Regions from separate parts of the Homo sapiens genome. Here region 2 is linked to region 1. Evidence: promoter capture Hi-C in 16 types of primary human blood cells and fetal thymus (Javierre and others, 2016). All regions are on one chromosome and are shown on one strand. The core of a region is centred on a gene start or on the middle of the fragment in contact, and the rest is flanking DNA. Distances in the headings are between cores, read along the strand shown.

Region 1 (7,903 bases), core at 1,869-4,368:
TATTTTTAGTAGAGACGGGGTTTTGCCATGTGGGCCAGGCTGGTCTCGAACTCCTGACCTCAGGTGATCCGCCTTCCTTGGACTCCCAAAGTGCTGGGATTACAGGCATGTCACCACACCCAGCTGGATCTTTCTTTAATTTATAATTAATCTTGGCCGGGCACTGTGGCTCACACCTGTAATCCCAGCACTTTTGGAGGCCGAGGCAGGAGGATACCCTGAGATCAGGAGTTCAAGACCAACCTGGCCCACACGACAAAACCCCGTCTCTACTTAAAATACAAAATTTAGTTGGGCATGGTGGCAGGCGCCTGTAATCCCAGCTACTAGGAAGGCTGAAGCAGGAGACTTTGACCCCGGGAGGCAGAGGTTGCAGTGAGCTGAGATTGCGCCACTGCATTCCAGCCTGGGCGACAGAGCAAGACTGTGTCCCAAAAATAAAAAATAAAAATAAAAAATAATTTATCACTGCTCCATGTTTTTCTCATACAATTGTTTACACTGTGATATAATCAACATACTATAAACTCTACCCTTTTAAAATGTACAATTCAGTAGTTTTTAGTATATTCAGAGTTGTGCAACCATCACCACTGATTTTAGAACATTTCTTATTTTTTGTTTTTTATTTTTTTATTTTTAGAGACAAGGTCTTACTATGTTGCCCAGGCTGGTCTCGAACTCCTGGACTCAAGCAATCCTCCAGCCTCGGCAACTCAAAGTGCTGGGATTACAGGTGTGAGCCATCTCACCAGGCCCTGATTTTAGAACATTTCATTATCCCAAAAAGAATATTCTCACCTACACCGCCAGTCCCCCAACCTCTGGCAACCATTAAGCTTTCTGTCTCTAGATTTACCTACTCTGGCCATTTCATATAAATGGAATCACACAATATGCAGTCTTTCTGACTGACTTAGCTCACGTAGTGTGATGTTTTCAAGGTTCATTCATATTGTAGCATGCATCAGCAGTTCATTCCTTTCTAAGGCCAAATAATACTCCATTGAATGAATATATTAACACCATATTTTGTTTATCGATGCATCAGTCGTTATGTCCTTACAACATTCCTGTATTCGAATAAAGAACCAGGGCTCCAAGAGGTTCACTCACTTTATAACTCAAATAATAAAATGACATTTGGGGCCGAGCGCAGTGGCTCACGCCTGTAATCCCAACACTTCGGGAGGCCGAGGGGCAGGGGAAAGGGGGATCACTTGAGGTCAGGAGTTCAAGACCATCCTGGCCAACATGGCGAAACCCCGTCTGTACTAAAAATACAAAAATTAGCCGGGTGTGATGGCCGGCGCCTGTAATCCTAGCTACTCGAGAGGCTGAGGCAGGAGAATCGCTTAAACCGGGAGGCGGAGGTTGCAGTGAGCCGAGATGGCACCACTGCACTCCAGCCTGGGCAACAGAGCGAGACTCCAACTCAAAAAAAAAAAAAACAAAAAAAACGACATTTCTACTTTTTGGCGATTATGAATAATGATGCTATGAACATGGGCGGACAAGCTTTATGTGAACATACGTTATCAGTTTTCTTGGGTATATAGCCAGGAGTGGGCTTGCTGGGTCATAGACTAATTCTAATGCTTAATGTTTTGAGGAACTACCAAACTATTTTCCACCATTTTACATCCCCACCAGCAATGTACGAGAATTTCACTATTACATTTTCAACAAATGAGGATAATTCTTGAACGAACAGAGAGGTATGCTGCCACCGCAGAACGACAACCCACTACCCAGAAGACTGTATTAACAAAGCAGAAGTATATGTCCGGCAGGAAAACGGAGAATAAAATGTTGCAGGTCCAAGTGTATTAGGCAAGTGAGTTAACCTCGCAGAGCCCCGGTTCCTTATTCGAAAACAAAAAAAAGGGCCGCTGTAATGCCATTTTACCTTGCAGTCGCCGTGAAAATTAAATCAGTCAATCCGCGTAAAGGTACTTTACAACACTGATTATTCATGATTCGATCTCAGGCAAGGCATTAGGGGCAAACAGCTAAATGCCCAGATCCCTCCTCCTCGCAAAGGTTCCTTCCCCTCGGGAGGGTCCCTGAGCGGCATCGGGGGCTGCAGCCACTTCCCTTCCCCGGGAGAGCCGGCCTGCCAGCCACGCAGGATAAATTGCTAGAGCTGGAGCAGTAGATCCGTGCCACCCCTACCCAGCACCGCTCCCAGGAGAGAGATCTGCAGCCTGCTGCTAAGCTTAGTAAGTCCGCGCAGGATCTTTCTTTTTTAAATGGTAATAAACATATTTTTTGGGGTCGAAGCAGAAAAGGAGGGGCAAAGGGAACACAAGCATGTCCCCCCAACCTCTGATCTTAGTCTCGGTCTCTCCAACACCCCCCGCAACACACCCTCCTCCACATAAGGAAAACAAGTATGAAACCCGATCCTTTACGAACCCCAGCCCCAAGGGCCCTCACCTCCCCGCAAGGACAGAGGGTGCAAAGCTTACCTGGTGGCTTCCTCCGGCTCGACCAGGCTCTGGCCAGGCGCCTCCCGAGGGATAGTAGCCATCGCCTCCTCCGCCTTCTCCCAGCCAGGTGGTCTCCGCCGGGCCGCCCCCGCGCACCCGCCAGGAAATGGGAGGCTGGGGAGGTTCAGGGCGAAGAGGATATAAGGGTGGAGGTGGGTGTACCGGCACATCTCCACCCCCAGGCCCGTAGTAGCGGCCGTAGGACGGACCGTCACTGGGGCCGTAGCCCGAGCGCCTCAGGGCCGACATGGGATCCGCTGCCCTGAAGCGCTTCCCGCCCCGCTCCCCACGGCCGACCCATCGCGCAGGCGCCCGCGGGCGATTGCGAATGGAGAGCAGCGAAGGGGGTCGGACGACGCCAGCCAATCCCAGGCCCGGGCCCGCCCCTTCTGCTGCCGAACCCCGAAAGCTGAGGGACGGAGGTCAGTGACTCTGGGGTCTCGGGAACCCGGAGACGAAGGAAGACACCGTGTTCCTTAAGAGGGAGTATACGTTTCCTCGCCATTTATCCAATGGAGTTTCCTCTTACCTACTTAACAGGAACAGGGAAAGGGTGTCCCCCAACGGTACGGCTGCCCCGCCTCTTCCTGGGGGCCCACACGTGTTACAGGAAGTGGGTAAGGGTAATATGGAGGAGCTTCCGGCAGCCCCCGGCGGCTGAAAGCCGGGGCAGAAGTGCTGGTCTCGGTCGGGATTCCGGGCTTGGTCCCACCGAGGCGGCGACTGCGGTAGGAGGGAAGAGGTTTTGGACGCGCTGGCCTCCCGCCGCTGTGCATTGCAGCATTATTTCAGTTCAAAATGAACTATATGCCTGGCACCGCCAGCCTCATCGAGGACATTGACAGTGAGTAGTTTATCTCCTCCCGGTGGAGCCCGGGGTTAGACCCTTCCTCCCGGGCGGGCGCCTCTTCCGAAGAAGCTTGTAGAATGAGTCCCGGGCGGGGCCGGTGTGTTCTGAGCTCAATCCGGGCGTTCCGCGTCGATGTCCTCCACAGCTGCGGTACACACCGCTTGCCCACCCAGTAGCCTGCTGCTACTTCTGCCCCTCGCAGCCTCCGCCAGCCCTCTAGCTGGTGAGCCCCAAGCGATGGAACTCATTCTTGCTTCCGTGGATCGCGGCAGCAGAGGCCCGAACACGAAAGAAGCCCGGGGAGGGGGGGGGCTTCTCCCCCGTCCACTCCTGCCTGCAGTATTTCGAAGTATCAGCGTGTTACCGGTGGATGGATCGGAATACCTAGAGAGAGGATTCATTAAAAAGCGAAAATATTAAGACAGCGGCAGTTGGACTTAATTGGCAGTAAATGTAGGCGCTCTACGGTGTGGCCATTTGCTAGCTTATTTTACTGTGAGGGTCATTAGCACCTTCAGGTTATTGTAGTAGAGACCACTGTTAGACATGGTATTGACTTTTCTGGAAAGACCAAATCACTTGCAACCTTTTTTTTTTTTTTAAGACAATTTACTTTTGCTTTTACTAAGAAGACCTCCCTTATTCCTGGTTTTTGTCCGGAAGAGGAGCTCAGTCCTATACAAAAGCGAAAAGAACCGTCTGCAGTTGTTCTGGCTTTCCTTTTTTCTAAATTCCGTCTGTGCATTATTCCTCAAGCAACATTTTTTATTGTTTTAATCATGTGATCTTTCTCATTAACTTGTTTCAAGATGATTTACACATAGTTTTAAATAAGTTGCAATCGTCTCAGTTACTCTGTGAATACGCAATTTAGAATCTATGGTTAAAATTTCATTTTACGGGCCTGGCGCGGTGGCTCACGCCTGTAATCCCAGCACTTTGGGGGGCCGAGGCGGGCAGATCGCCTGAGGTCGGGAGTTCAAGACCAGCCTAGCCAACATGGTGAAACCCCGTTCCTACAATTAGCTGGGCACTATGGCGGTGCCTGTAATCCCAGCTACTCGGGAGGCTGAGGCGGGAGAATCGCTTGAACCCGGGAGGAGAAGGTTGCAGTGAGCCGAGATCGCACCATTGCACTCCAGCCTGAGCGACAGAGCAAGACTCCGTCTCAAAAAAAAAAAAAAAATCATTTTATGGTTGACAGATCTTTTTTCTTTTCTTTTCTTTTTTTTTTTTTTTTTTTGAGACAGAGTCTTGCTCTGTCGCCCAGGCTGTAGTGTGCAGTGGCGCGATCTCGACTCACTGGAACCTCCACCTCCCGGGTTTAAACAATTCTTGTGCCTCAGCCTCCCAAGTAACTGGGATTACAGGCGCCTGCCAGCACGCCCAGCTAATTTTTGCATTTTTTGGTAGAGACGAGGTTTCGCCATGCTGGGCAGTCTGGTCTCCAACTCCTGACCTCAGGTGATCCACCCACCTCGGCCTCCCAGAGTACTGGGATTACAGGCGTGAGCCACCGCCTCCGGCCGACAGATCATTTTTTTAAACACAAATTACTTATTGTGCTATGTAAGGGAAATGTAGTGTAATTGGACTAAATATATATTAACATCTATATGAACCTGTTACGTGTAACAGGATGTTTTAGTTGCTCGAGGATGCTCTTTTGCCCTCATCTCTCCTTATATATCCTCTAACACATCCTGCCATTTTACTAAAAATCAGTTTTGCTCTTTGGTCCTCTAACCCCTACCTCTTTGTAGATTCCAGACCCCCTACTTTATGAAAACTTTGAAGCCATTTGATATGCACCCTTTGCTCCCCAACCCTAACACACAGTTTCCTCCTTGTGTTTCTGTATTTTCACCCATCCTTTAATTTGAGTAGGAAGGATTCCTCCCTTTTTGTCTGTCTGTTGTTACTGTCTCCTCTCACTGCTTCTGGAACCTTTTTTCGTTGTTAGCCTTTTTCTTTTATATCCTCTGTCTCCCCAACCCCTGCGTTCTTCCCCTCATGTGTTACTGTCTATCCATCTCAAATATTTTCTCCGTTCTCTTCATATGCCCATCCCTTTTTTCATATCTTTATCCCCAAACCTCGAGTCATTTTCATTTTGTCTGTTTCTTGATCACCTTCAATAGACTACTTACATTACTCCTGCAATCTAATTTTTATCCTGAAATTACTCAAGCTGCATTCTTCAAAGTTATTCGTCTAAGGTCTTCTTCTGTGTTCTCTCCCCTTTGCAGCACTGTGATACTCTCCCCACCAGATTCTTTAATTCTCTTCTCTTGATTTCTCTAACAACTGGTACTTGGTGATTTTCTTACTTCTCTGGCTCTTACTGTTCTCCAAAATAGATGGTCACTTGGATTACATGTGGCCTACTTCTTTAAATCTTTAGTAGATCTCCTGTACTTTAGTTTTTTATATCACCTCTTTGTAGATTTATCCAAAATTGCTTTCTCTAATCTTGATGTCTTTGGTTTTCCAGTCTTACTGTTTCCAACTATCTGCGTGTGTTTCTATTAAGTGTCCTGATAGCACTTTAGAATCACAAAGAGCTAATAACCTTCACCCTGAGCTTGCTGCTTTTATTCCCAACTCTTGGTAAATAGTTTTGTGATGTCTCATAAAACTCCTACATCTTTACCTCACATCTTCAGCACCCCACCCTCTCACACATACCCACTTATACAAACTCAGTAAACAGACTCCATCACTTAATGTTTTCTTGTTCCCTATGAAGTCAAATCCAGATGCAGCCTGCGCCCAGTACTTTTCTGACTTTATCTACTGTTCTTTCCCTTCACACCCTCAGCTTTTAGCTAAACATGGATGTATAGCCCTTTTTTCCTCCTCTTTAATTTACAGATTTCCTTCTCCCCCCCCGCCCCCTTCCTATCACTCTTCTTGTGCCCTAAAATTATCTACCTTTTAAGGTCCAACTCTGATACCTCCTTCAGAAATACAGTTTCTCTCTCTGTAGTCTCATATAATTAAGATTTGCTTTCTGTGGTACTTATTTATAGCGCAAGGAAGAGTATAAATTCCTTCAGGGCAGAGTCACTGTGTTTTTCCTCTGTTCTGCATCTAGAAAGTACTTTAGGCATGGAATGAAAGAAATTTTGCTGGGTGCGCTAGTAACTGGCTTATTTTCATTCTTCAGTGTCAGCTCAAAGTCACCTCTTCAGAGAGGCTTTCCCTTGCCACCCTTCCTTCTGTAACCACTTCTCTCCCTTCATCATACTGCCTTGCTAGTTTATTATTCCATTGTCCTAATCACAATAGGTTATTTTCTTATTTATTTGTCCTCCTCCAACATGAATATAAATTCATAAGGTTGGTGACTTTCTAAGTCTCATTCTCTACTGTATGTCTAGACCCCAGAACAGCACATGCCCCCTCAGTAAACATTGAATTTCTGCTCTAGCTTATTATTAGTCTTCATTTTAAATGCCTGAAGCATTGTGTTTTTATTTAAAGCCTTCTATGGTTACAAACAAAATGTGAGATAGAAGCTCATCTTTTGAGGACAAAATAATTCTACAAATAAGATAATAGTCATCTAGATTAAATTTGTCAATTTACAGATATAAAAACTGACATGACATGAGATGGTTTAAGTGTCAAACATAAGGGTCTTTGGCTAGGCGCCATGGTTCACGCCTGTAATCCCAGCACTTTGGGAGGTGGAGGTGGATGGATCATCTGAAGTCAGGAGTTTGAGACCAGCCTAGCTAACATGGTGATACACCATCTCTACTAAAAATATGAAAATTAGCCAGGCATGGTGGCAAACTCCTGTAGTCCCAGCTACTAAGGAGGCCGATGCAGGAGGATCGCTTGAACCTGGGAGGCAGAGGTTGTAGTAAGCCGAGATTGTGCCACTGCACTGCAGCCTGGGTGACAGAGTGAGACTCTGTCTCAAAAAAAAAAAAAAAGAAAAAAGGAAAAAAAAAAAACCAACATAAGGGTCTAGAGCCAGCTAGTCAGGCTTCCTGGTGCCACGCCCTGTCCTTTTCCCACTCTGCCACACTGCTCTGATTCTTTTCACTACTGATGTTATCTAAATCCGCGTTGCTGTGCTGCTTTTTTCAGTTTTCCAATGAACTTGAACTTCACATTAAATGCATTGGCCGAGGAAGTGGTACAGCTTAAACTGTTAATTATTATCCTAAATACTCGCTGAACTTGTCAGTTTTCATTTAAAAGATTTTTTCCTCTCTCCCCAGAAAAGCACTTGGTTCTGCTTCGAGATGGAAGGACACTTATAGGCTTTTTAAGAAGCATTGATCAATTTGGTATGTATTAATTTATGGACATCTCTTATACTCTGGATAATAACAGCAGCCCATTGCATTTTTTGTTATTTAATATTGAAATTTATCTGCAACTTTTTCACGTGTGTGACCTAGTAGGACTGATTTTAGTGAGTACATCATTGTTTTCTATACATTCAGATTAGGTGGTTCAAAGCTTATATATATTTCCAAGCTCGTTTCTAAAACTGGCTTTCAGTAGAATCCCCAGTAGGGGGAGCCAAATGATAGAAATAAAC
Region 2 (7,903 bases), core at 1,389-3,888, 240 kb after region 1:
AGTATGATGAAAATGACACATAAATGTTGATAGCAATTACCTTAAAATATAAATGTCAAAGAATAGAAACTGGATGGAGGTGCACCCGGACTGAAGTTATGGATTGGTTGTAGGGAATTTGTGTGCTTCATTATAATTTTTTGATGCTTTTGAGTTTTCTACAATAATACGGACTACTTTCATAATCATTTGCCTCAAAACAGGTTCCCTGGGAGCATAGCCTGAGACAGGAGTTCCTGGGCATGTGACTTAGGGAAGGAGTGCCCTTCAGGAAGAACCTGGAAGGGAGTGAAGGAAGCAGGATTGTGAAGGGGAAGGAACCAAGCAAGGATGTGGCCTCAGGTCAAGTCTAGGCTTCGCCTGGTTGGGGAATGGGCCCTGAAGTGTAGATTGAGCCACAGAGGTGAACCGAGACAAGGGGGCTGGCCTTTTTTCTTTTTCTTTTCCTTTTTTTTTTTTTTTGAGACAGTCTCGCTCTGTCACCCAGGCTAGAGTGCAGTGGAGAGATCTCGGCTCACTGTGCCCTCTGCCTCCCGTGTTCAAGCAATTCTCCTGTCTCAGCCTCCTCCCTACATGCGCCCACCACCAAGCCAGGCTAATTTTTTTTTTGTATTTTTAGTAGAGACGGGGTTTCACCCCATTAGCCAGTATGGTCTCAATCTCCTGTCCTTGTGATCTGCCTGTCTTGGCCTTCCAAAGTGCTGGGATTACAGGTGTGAGCCACCGTGCCCGACCTTTTTTTTTTTTTAAAGACAGGATCTCACTCTGTCAACCAGGCTGGAGTGCAGTGCCATGATCATAGCTCACTGCAATACCACCACGCCCAGCTAATTTTAAAATTTTTTGTGGAGTGGGTGGGGGGGGTCTCCCTATGTTGCTCAGGCTGGTCTTGAGCTCCTGGGCTCAAGTGATCCTCCCGCCTCAGTCTCCCAAAGCACTAGGATTGCAGGTGTGAGCCACCATGCCTGGCTGTGGCTGACCCTTTGTATGCCTAAATCAGGCAGTCATTGGCTACCCCTGTCAGTGGGGGTGAAACCTCCAGGTGGTTTCTAGGCTAGCTGACTCCTGCCAGCCAAGCACAATTCTCCAGAGAACACAGGCATATAAGCCTTGTCCACCAGCGAAGCAGCAGCTGGGGCCGGGCACATTGGTGGTGAAGGCCTTCTGGGTGAGACATCAACAGTGTTTGCAACAATCATTTAAAGAGTTATTTAACATCAGGCTGGGTGTGGTGGCTCATGCCTGTAATCCTAACACTTTGGGAGGCTGAGGTAGGCAGATCACTTGAGGTCAGGAGTTTGAGACCAGTCTGGCCAACGTGGTGAAACCCTGTCTCTACTAAAAATACAAAAAAAAGCCGGGCGCAGTGACTCACGCCTGTAATCCCAGCACTTTGGGAGGCCCAGGTGGGCAGATCACCTGAGGTCTGGAGTTTGAGACCAGCCTGATCAACATGGAGAAATCCCCCTCTCTACTAAAAATACAAAATTAGTTGGGTGTGGTGGCGCATGCCTGTAATCCCAGCTACTCGGGAGGCTGAGGCAGGAGAATCTCTTGAACCTGGGAAGCAGAGGTTGCAGTGAGCCGAGATCACACCACTGCACTCCAATGTGGGCAGCAAGAGCGAGACTCTGTCTCAAAAAAAAAAAAAAAAAAAAAGAGAGAGTCATTAAACATCAAAAGGAAAAGAAAGCAAGCAATATGCAGACTGACTCTATAGAGGCTGGCTCTTTTCTCCCCTTGGCCTCTGCTGTCTATACTTACTAGTTGGCTGTCATTGAAACTTAACAAATGGCCAGGTGTGGTGGCTCATGCCTGTAATCCCAGCAGTTTGGGAGGCCAAGGCAGGCAGATCACCTGAGGCAAGGAGTTCGAGACTATCGACAAAGTGAGACTCCATCTCAAAAAAAAAAAAAACCAAAAAAAGAAAGAAAAAGAAACTTAACAAACATATGTAGAAGTCTTGGCTCTAGATAACTGAGAGAAATAGGACTGGCTTAGTGAGTTGCCAATTATATTCTAATAATAGGATTCTTTATTAAAACAACTGTGGAAGAAAACAGTGTTTGCTTTTTATTCCTTTTGAAATCTGGGGCACTTTGCAAAATGGAAATCAATGCCTCGACTTGCATTGGTGTGTGATCTGGGGTTTTTGCTTCTGCAGGAGAAGCCCTATCTGGCTTATTGGCTGCCTGCCTTGCCCTATGTCTTTCTTTCTTTTTTTTTTTTTTAATTTGTATAAATGTGTGAAGTACAAGTGTAATTTTGTTAGATGCATACATCGCATAGTGGTGAAGTCAGGGCTTTTAGGGTATCCATAACCCCAACAATGTACATTGTATCTGTTAAGTAATCTCCCATTATCCTTGCCCTGTCATCTAAGGAGTGGGCTTGTTACTTTGGACTGAGCCACCTGGGGCTAGAGAAGAGAAGGCATTGAGTGAGGGAAACGGGCTTGGGAATTCCGGAGATTGTTATCCTGCCCTGCCCGCTGTCTGAGGGGATTCTCCTCAAGTACCCTGGAATGTTCCTGTGGCCCCTGTGGATCGCCACCACAAAGATCATGAGGTTCTGTTGCCCTGGCAACCCGTTGTCCAGCGCCTCTGCACTGGGGCTGCCAAGGTTCCAGGAAGAGGCAGGACTGCCCGGCCCAGCCTTGGAGGAAGACTTCTGGGCAGAAGCGGAACACAGGAGCAGAGACACATAGTCTTGGCTCCAGTTTCGTTTCAGTTATGCCCACCCTTTCAGTGTTCATGGATGTGCCCCTCGCCCACAAGCTAGAGGGCAGCTTGTTAAAGACCTACAAACAAGATGATTACCCGAACAAGATATTCTTAGCCTATAGAGGTAGATGCCTAGCAGTTCTGAAGTATAAGACTTAAGTGATGGTAACTGCCTCTAGGAGGACAGTGTTCCCTGCTGCAGGGGGAGGGGTGCAGCCCAAGCTTCTGTGGGTGGAGAGATCTTTTCTTGTTAACAGAATTACCCAGTGGGGAAAAGTGCAGATAAGGTCCCAGGTCATTCCATGCTCTCTGCCCTTCTCTGGGGGCTTCTAGGGATTTGGTGAGAGCTATGTCCTCTTCCACAACTCTATGCTTGGGGGCCTGCATGGCCATCCCACACTTCTTCAGATTCTTACCTCCTCTCTCTCTCTTTCTCTTTCTCTTCCTGTTCTTGAACCAAGAATGGTTCTCCAGATTGAGCTTTCTGCTATGCAACTGGGGCTCACCACTGTGAAAGTCAGGGTTACCTTTATTTAGCTTCATCTACCTATAACTCTCATTTTGCATATATATATATATATATATATATATATATATATATATATATTTTTTTTTTTTTTTTCTTGAGACAGGGCCTCACTCTGTTGCCCAGGCTGAAGTGCAGTGGCAAGATCTCAGCTCACTGCCACCTTTGCCTCCTGGGCTCAAACCATCCTCTTGCCTCAGCCTCCTGAGTAGCTGGGACTACAGGCGCTGGTCACCATGTCTGGCTGTTTTGTATTTTTTTGTAGAGACAGGGTTTCATCATGTTGCCCAGGCTGATCTTGAACTCCTGAACTCAAGTGATCCACCCACCTTAGCCTCCCGAAGTGCTGGGATTACAGGCCTGAGCCACCAATCCTGGGCTTGTATAATTTTTAACCTTTAAAATGGCATAGGTTTCAGTTGTCTTTTTTAAAAAGACAAAAATAATACACATTCACTAACAGCATATTCTTTTCATCAAGGAGAAAAGAAAAGGGAAAGTTGTATTTTCACAGGCACCTTCCCACAGCCCCATGGAGTCCAGGAGAGATTTGTTTGCAGGCTGTCTGCAGAGCTCAGCCCTGGGGGCCCAAACCAGGCATCTGGAGCTCCCTCTGTGGTTTTCCTCACAGTCTGCATGACAAATGAAGGCCATCCCTGGGTTTCTCTCGTGGTGCAGAAGACTCGACTACAGATTTCACAGGATCCCTCCCTGAATTATGAGTACTTGCCCACCATGGGCCTGAAATCATTCATCCAGGCCTCTCTAGCACTCCTCTTTGGAAAGCACAGCCAAGCCATTGTGGAGAACAGGGTGAGAAGGTGGGCCCTCCCCTGGCTCATTTAGACACAGAGAGTGGCGATCTGGGTCTGCACAACCTTAAACCCGAAGGGGACCTCGGAGGGCCCCCTGGTATTGATAAAAGAGATACCTGAGGCTCAGAGAGTCCACAAGTCCTTAGCCATCGAGTCAGGATCGGAATCTCAGTCCAGTGGTATTCCCACCTGCTCACACTGCTGATTTGAAAGCTCTTTCAAGACAGGAATGATCTGAATTGGAGGTGGTGTTAGTATTCCCATTACTGTTTTATTTTTTAACCTATTATATATATTTTTTGAGACAGAGTCTCACTCTGTCACCCAGGCTAGAGTGCAGTGGTGCCATCTCAGCTCACTGCAACCTCCACCTCCCAGGTTCAAGCAATTCTGGTGCTGCATCCTCCTGAGTAGCTGGAATCACAGGCATGTGCCATCACGCCCAGCTAATTTTTGTATTTTTTGTAGAGACAGGGTTTCACCATGTTGGCCAGGCTGGTCTCAAACTCCTGGCCTCAGGGGATTCCCTGCCTCGTCCTCCCAAAGTGCTGGGATTACAGGCATGAGCTACTGCGTCTCGCCTCCATTACTGTTTTAGAGTGTTATTTCTGTCTATTTCTTTTTATTTTTTAATGTTTATTTACTTATTATTTTTTTGAGACGGAGTCTCACTCTGTCACCCAGACTGGAGTGCAGTGGCCTGATCTCCGCTCACTGCAACTTCCGCCTTCCGGGTTCAAGTGATTCTCCTGCCTCAGCCTCTTGAGTAGCGGGGATTACACATGCCCAACACCACATCCGGCTAATTTTTGTATTTTTAGTAGATACGGGGTTTCAACATGTTGGCCATGACCTCGAGTGATCCACCCACCCCAGCCTCCCAAAGTGCTGGAATTACAGGTGTGAGCCACCACACCTGGCCTATTTGTGTCTATGTCTTGCTGGCAGGTAGGGGGTGTACACACTGTTGGTGACAGTGGTGCCTTCCAGCTTGGCGTCCAGTTTCTCAGAGCTTGGCATAAGGATGCTCGTATAGTTTACATCATCTCTTCTCAAAAAGGTTAGTCTTACCCAAGATGAGGGGAACAGCAATCCCCGTCCCTTGTTCCTAATCCTCACCCCATTTGCCATCTTCACTGTTATCCCTCATTCTCTGTCATGAGCAAAATGGCAGACAAGCCAAGCTATTTATGTCCTTTTCCTGTTAATGTCCCACCTTCAGCCAGTGACTCTCAGCCCCACACTCCAGTACCTCTGTCTCCGTCTCTCTGTTTCCCATGTACCAGCTAGTGGGGGGCTGTGTTCCCACAGAACTGCATGGACTCGTCTTCCAGGACATGGGCTTTACAGTTTATGAATACTCTGTCTGGGACCCCAAGAAGCTATGCATGGACCCCGACATACTCCTCAATGTGGTGGAGGTAGAGGGGCCCCGCTCAGAAACTCCTCCCTAGAGCTGACTTACAGCCTAATGTTCCTCTCCTCCCCACACCTCTTAAGTCATCCAAGACCTTTTCCAGGTTTGAATTTGCCTGGCCCTTCAATGGTAACTAACATGGAGGAGCACTTCACCCCCAAATGCCCTGGGGCCGCCACTCCTGGGTGGGGGTGAAGCCTGATGAGACCGTCTGTACCTGCAGCAGATCCCACATGGCTGTGTCCTTGTGATGGGGAACATTATCGACTGCAAGTTGACACCAAGTGGGTGGGCAAAGTTGATGTCCATGATAAAGGTAAACCCAATCTCCCACCCGACCTTCCTGTCTTTGACTCTCTGCTCTCTCCTCCATCTGTCTCATTCTTTTTTTGTTCTCCTTTCTCCTACAGAGCAAGCAGATATTCCCATTTTTTGATATTCCCTGTCAAGGTTTATACACCAGTGACTTGGAAGAAGATACTAGAATCTTACAATACTTTGTGTCTCAAGGCTTTGAGTTCTTCTGCAGCCAGTCTCTGTCCAAGAATTTTGGCATTTATGGTATGGTACAGGCAGAAGAAGGGAGGGTCTGTTGCTGAAGTGGTGCTGCGCTCACAGCACAGTGATGTTTTTGATATCTCATCCTTGGGAGGGAGCCAAGGACTCTAGGGAGAGCACTATAGAAGCAGAAGTGGGGAGCACTGAGCTAGAATTTGGTTCTGTTACTAAATCTAGTAACAGAACCCAACCCAGCTTGGCTTGGATCATTTCACCCCCTCAGGCCTCTGTTTCCTCAACTATAAGATGAGAGGGTGGGGCTGGCATGGTGGGTGACACCTGTAATCCCAGTTGACACCTCCTAATCCCTCCTTTGGGAGGTCAAGGTTAGGTGATCACTTGAGGCCAGGAATTCAAGACCAGCCTGGGCAACACACCGAGACCCGGTCTCTACAAACAATTAAAAAAATTAGTCGGGCATGGTGGTACACACCAGTAGTCCTACCCACCCGGGGGGCTGAGGCAGGAGGATTGCTTAAGCCCAGGAGGTAGAGGTTGCAGTGAGCTATGATTCCACCATTGCACTCTAGCCTGGGCAACAGAGAGAGATGGTCACTTTAAACAAATAAAAATAAAAATAAAAATAAAAAAGGAAAGGAAAGGAAAAAACAGGAGAGTAGAACTTAGTGATCTTTCAAATTCCTTCCTCCTTTAAGACTCTGACTTATGGGTACTTTTGCTGGAAGGAGAGCCTCTGGCAACTTCCCGGAGCCTGAATATCACCCTGGCTGGGCTGCAATGAGGGCCTTGTGGTTCAACCCTTTCTTCTGCAAGGTTGGGGGTTGAGATCTAGGTGAAGGCCTTGGGAGTGGAGGAAGGGGCTGAGGCTGAGGCTGTCTTCCCAACACTGCAGATGAAGGAGTGGGGATGCTAGTGGTGGTGGCAGTCAACAACCAGCAGCTGCTGTGTGTCCTCTCCCAGCTGGAAGGATTAGCCCAGGCCCTGTGGCTAAACCCCCCCAACACGGGTGCACGTGTCATCACCTCCATCCTCTGCAACCCTGCTCTGCTGGGAGAATGGTAAGGGTGAGGGCTGGAGCAGGAAGGGATGGGAGAGGCCCTGGGTGCCTGCAGACCTGCTGATCTGCAGGATTCGGCAGGGTGCTTCTCTCCTGCCCATGTGGCCTTTTTACTCCATTCATTCATCAACATTTACTAAGGACCTGATGTGTACCAATGGCGGTGGCTATGCCAAGGGTTGCCTTAGGGGACAGAGTGATAGGACATTTGTTTTGCACCCAGGCCAATGAGTTATATGAACTCTTCCAGATTGCTTGGGGAGATAAGAGAGCATCAGGGGCTTGCAACTCTGGCAAAATCTGCCTGGGAGCCTCCCTGGTTTGCTTAAATGAATATGAGATCAAACCTCCCTCCCACTCATAATCATCCCAGAGCCTCTGGCACTCTGTTGGAGACCTTTGAAGGTAAGAAGAGTGGACTGGCAATGAGGGAGGTTTGAGGGCAAGGGGGACCTCACACCCTCCTTTCTCATTGTCCTTCCTTGGTAGGAAGCAGAGTCTAAAAGAAGTTGTAGAGAACATCATGCTAACCAAGGAAAAAGTGAAGGAGAAACTCCAGCTCCTGGGAACCCCTGGGTCCTGGGGTCACATCACCGAGCAGAGTGGGACCCACGGCTATCTTGGACTCAACTGTAAGGGTCTAGGGGGCTGGTGTCCCCCCTTTCTGACCTTTGGCCTGTATTTGAGCATTAAACTTCACTGACTAGGTGACCAGTTCCTAGCTTCACTCCAGATTTTGATTCTGTCCTCTGGAAAATGGGCTGCTTTAAAGACACTTCTGGACCCCCAGAAGTACCGACACTCCCTATCCTTCATAAACCAGCCTGGGTGCCCGGTGCAGTGGCT

What was found. Contacts are between HindIII fragments. The CHiCAGO score rates a contact against its expected background, and 5 or more counts as called.
Region 2: a contact is called between the fragment with the promoter of GOT1L1 here and the fragment with the promoter of LSM1 in region 1, in 3 of 17 cell types (erythroblasts, megakaryocytes and M2 macrophages). The highest score is 8.9, in erythroblasts.

What each region holds. Positions count from the first base shown.
Region 1 is chr8:38,171,708-38,179,610 of GRCh38, reverse strand. It overlaps LSM1 (LSM1 homolog, mRNA degradation associated), which reads left to right and starts at 3,118. Exons shown (of 4, transcript NM_014462.3): 1 at 3,118-3,336; 2 at 7,578-7,646. The coding sequence starts at 3,291. It overlaps BAG4 (BAG cochaperone 4), which reads right to left and starts at 2,756. Exons shown (of 5, transcript NM_004874.4): 1 at 2,472-2,756. The coding sequence starts at 2,741. RefSeq lists enhancers at 1,814-2,153, 3,064-3,213, 2,435-3,292, 3,624-3,713, 3,293-4,150. The HindIII fragment of the contact is 945 bases long and covers 2,469-3,413 here.
Region 2 is chr8:37,934,859-37,942,761 of GRCh38, reverse strand. GOT1L1 (glutamic-oxaloacetic transaminase 1 like 1) reads left to right here and starts at 2,638. Exons shown (of 9, transcript NM_152413.3): 1 at 2,638-2,847; 2 at 3,881-4,062; 3 at 5,013-5,124; 4 at 5,376-5,485; 5 at 5,705-5,797; 6 at 5,892-6,042; 7 at 6,893-7,058; 8 at 7,547-7,689. The coding sequence starts at 2,733. RefSeq lists enhancers at 2,616-3,132, 6,974-7,475. The HindIII fragment of the contact is 5,963 bases long and covers 1-2,947 here.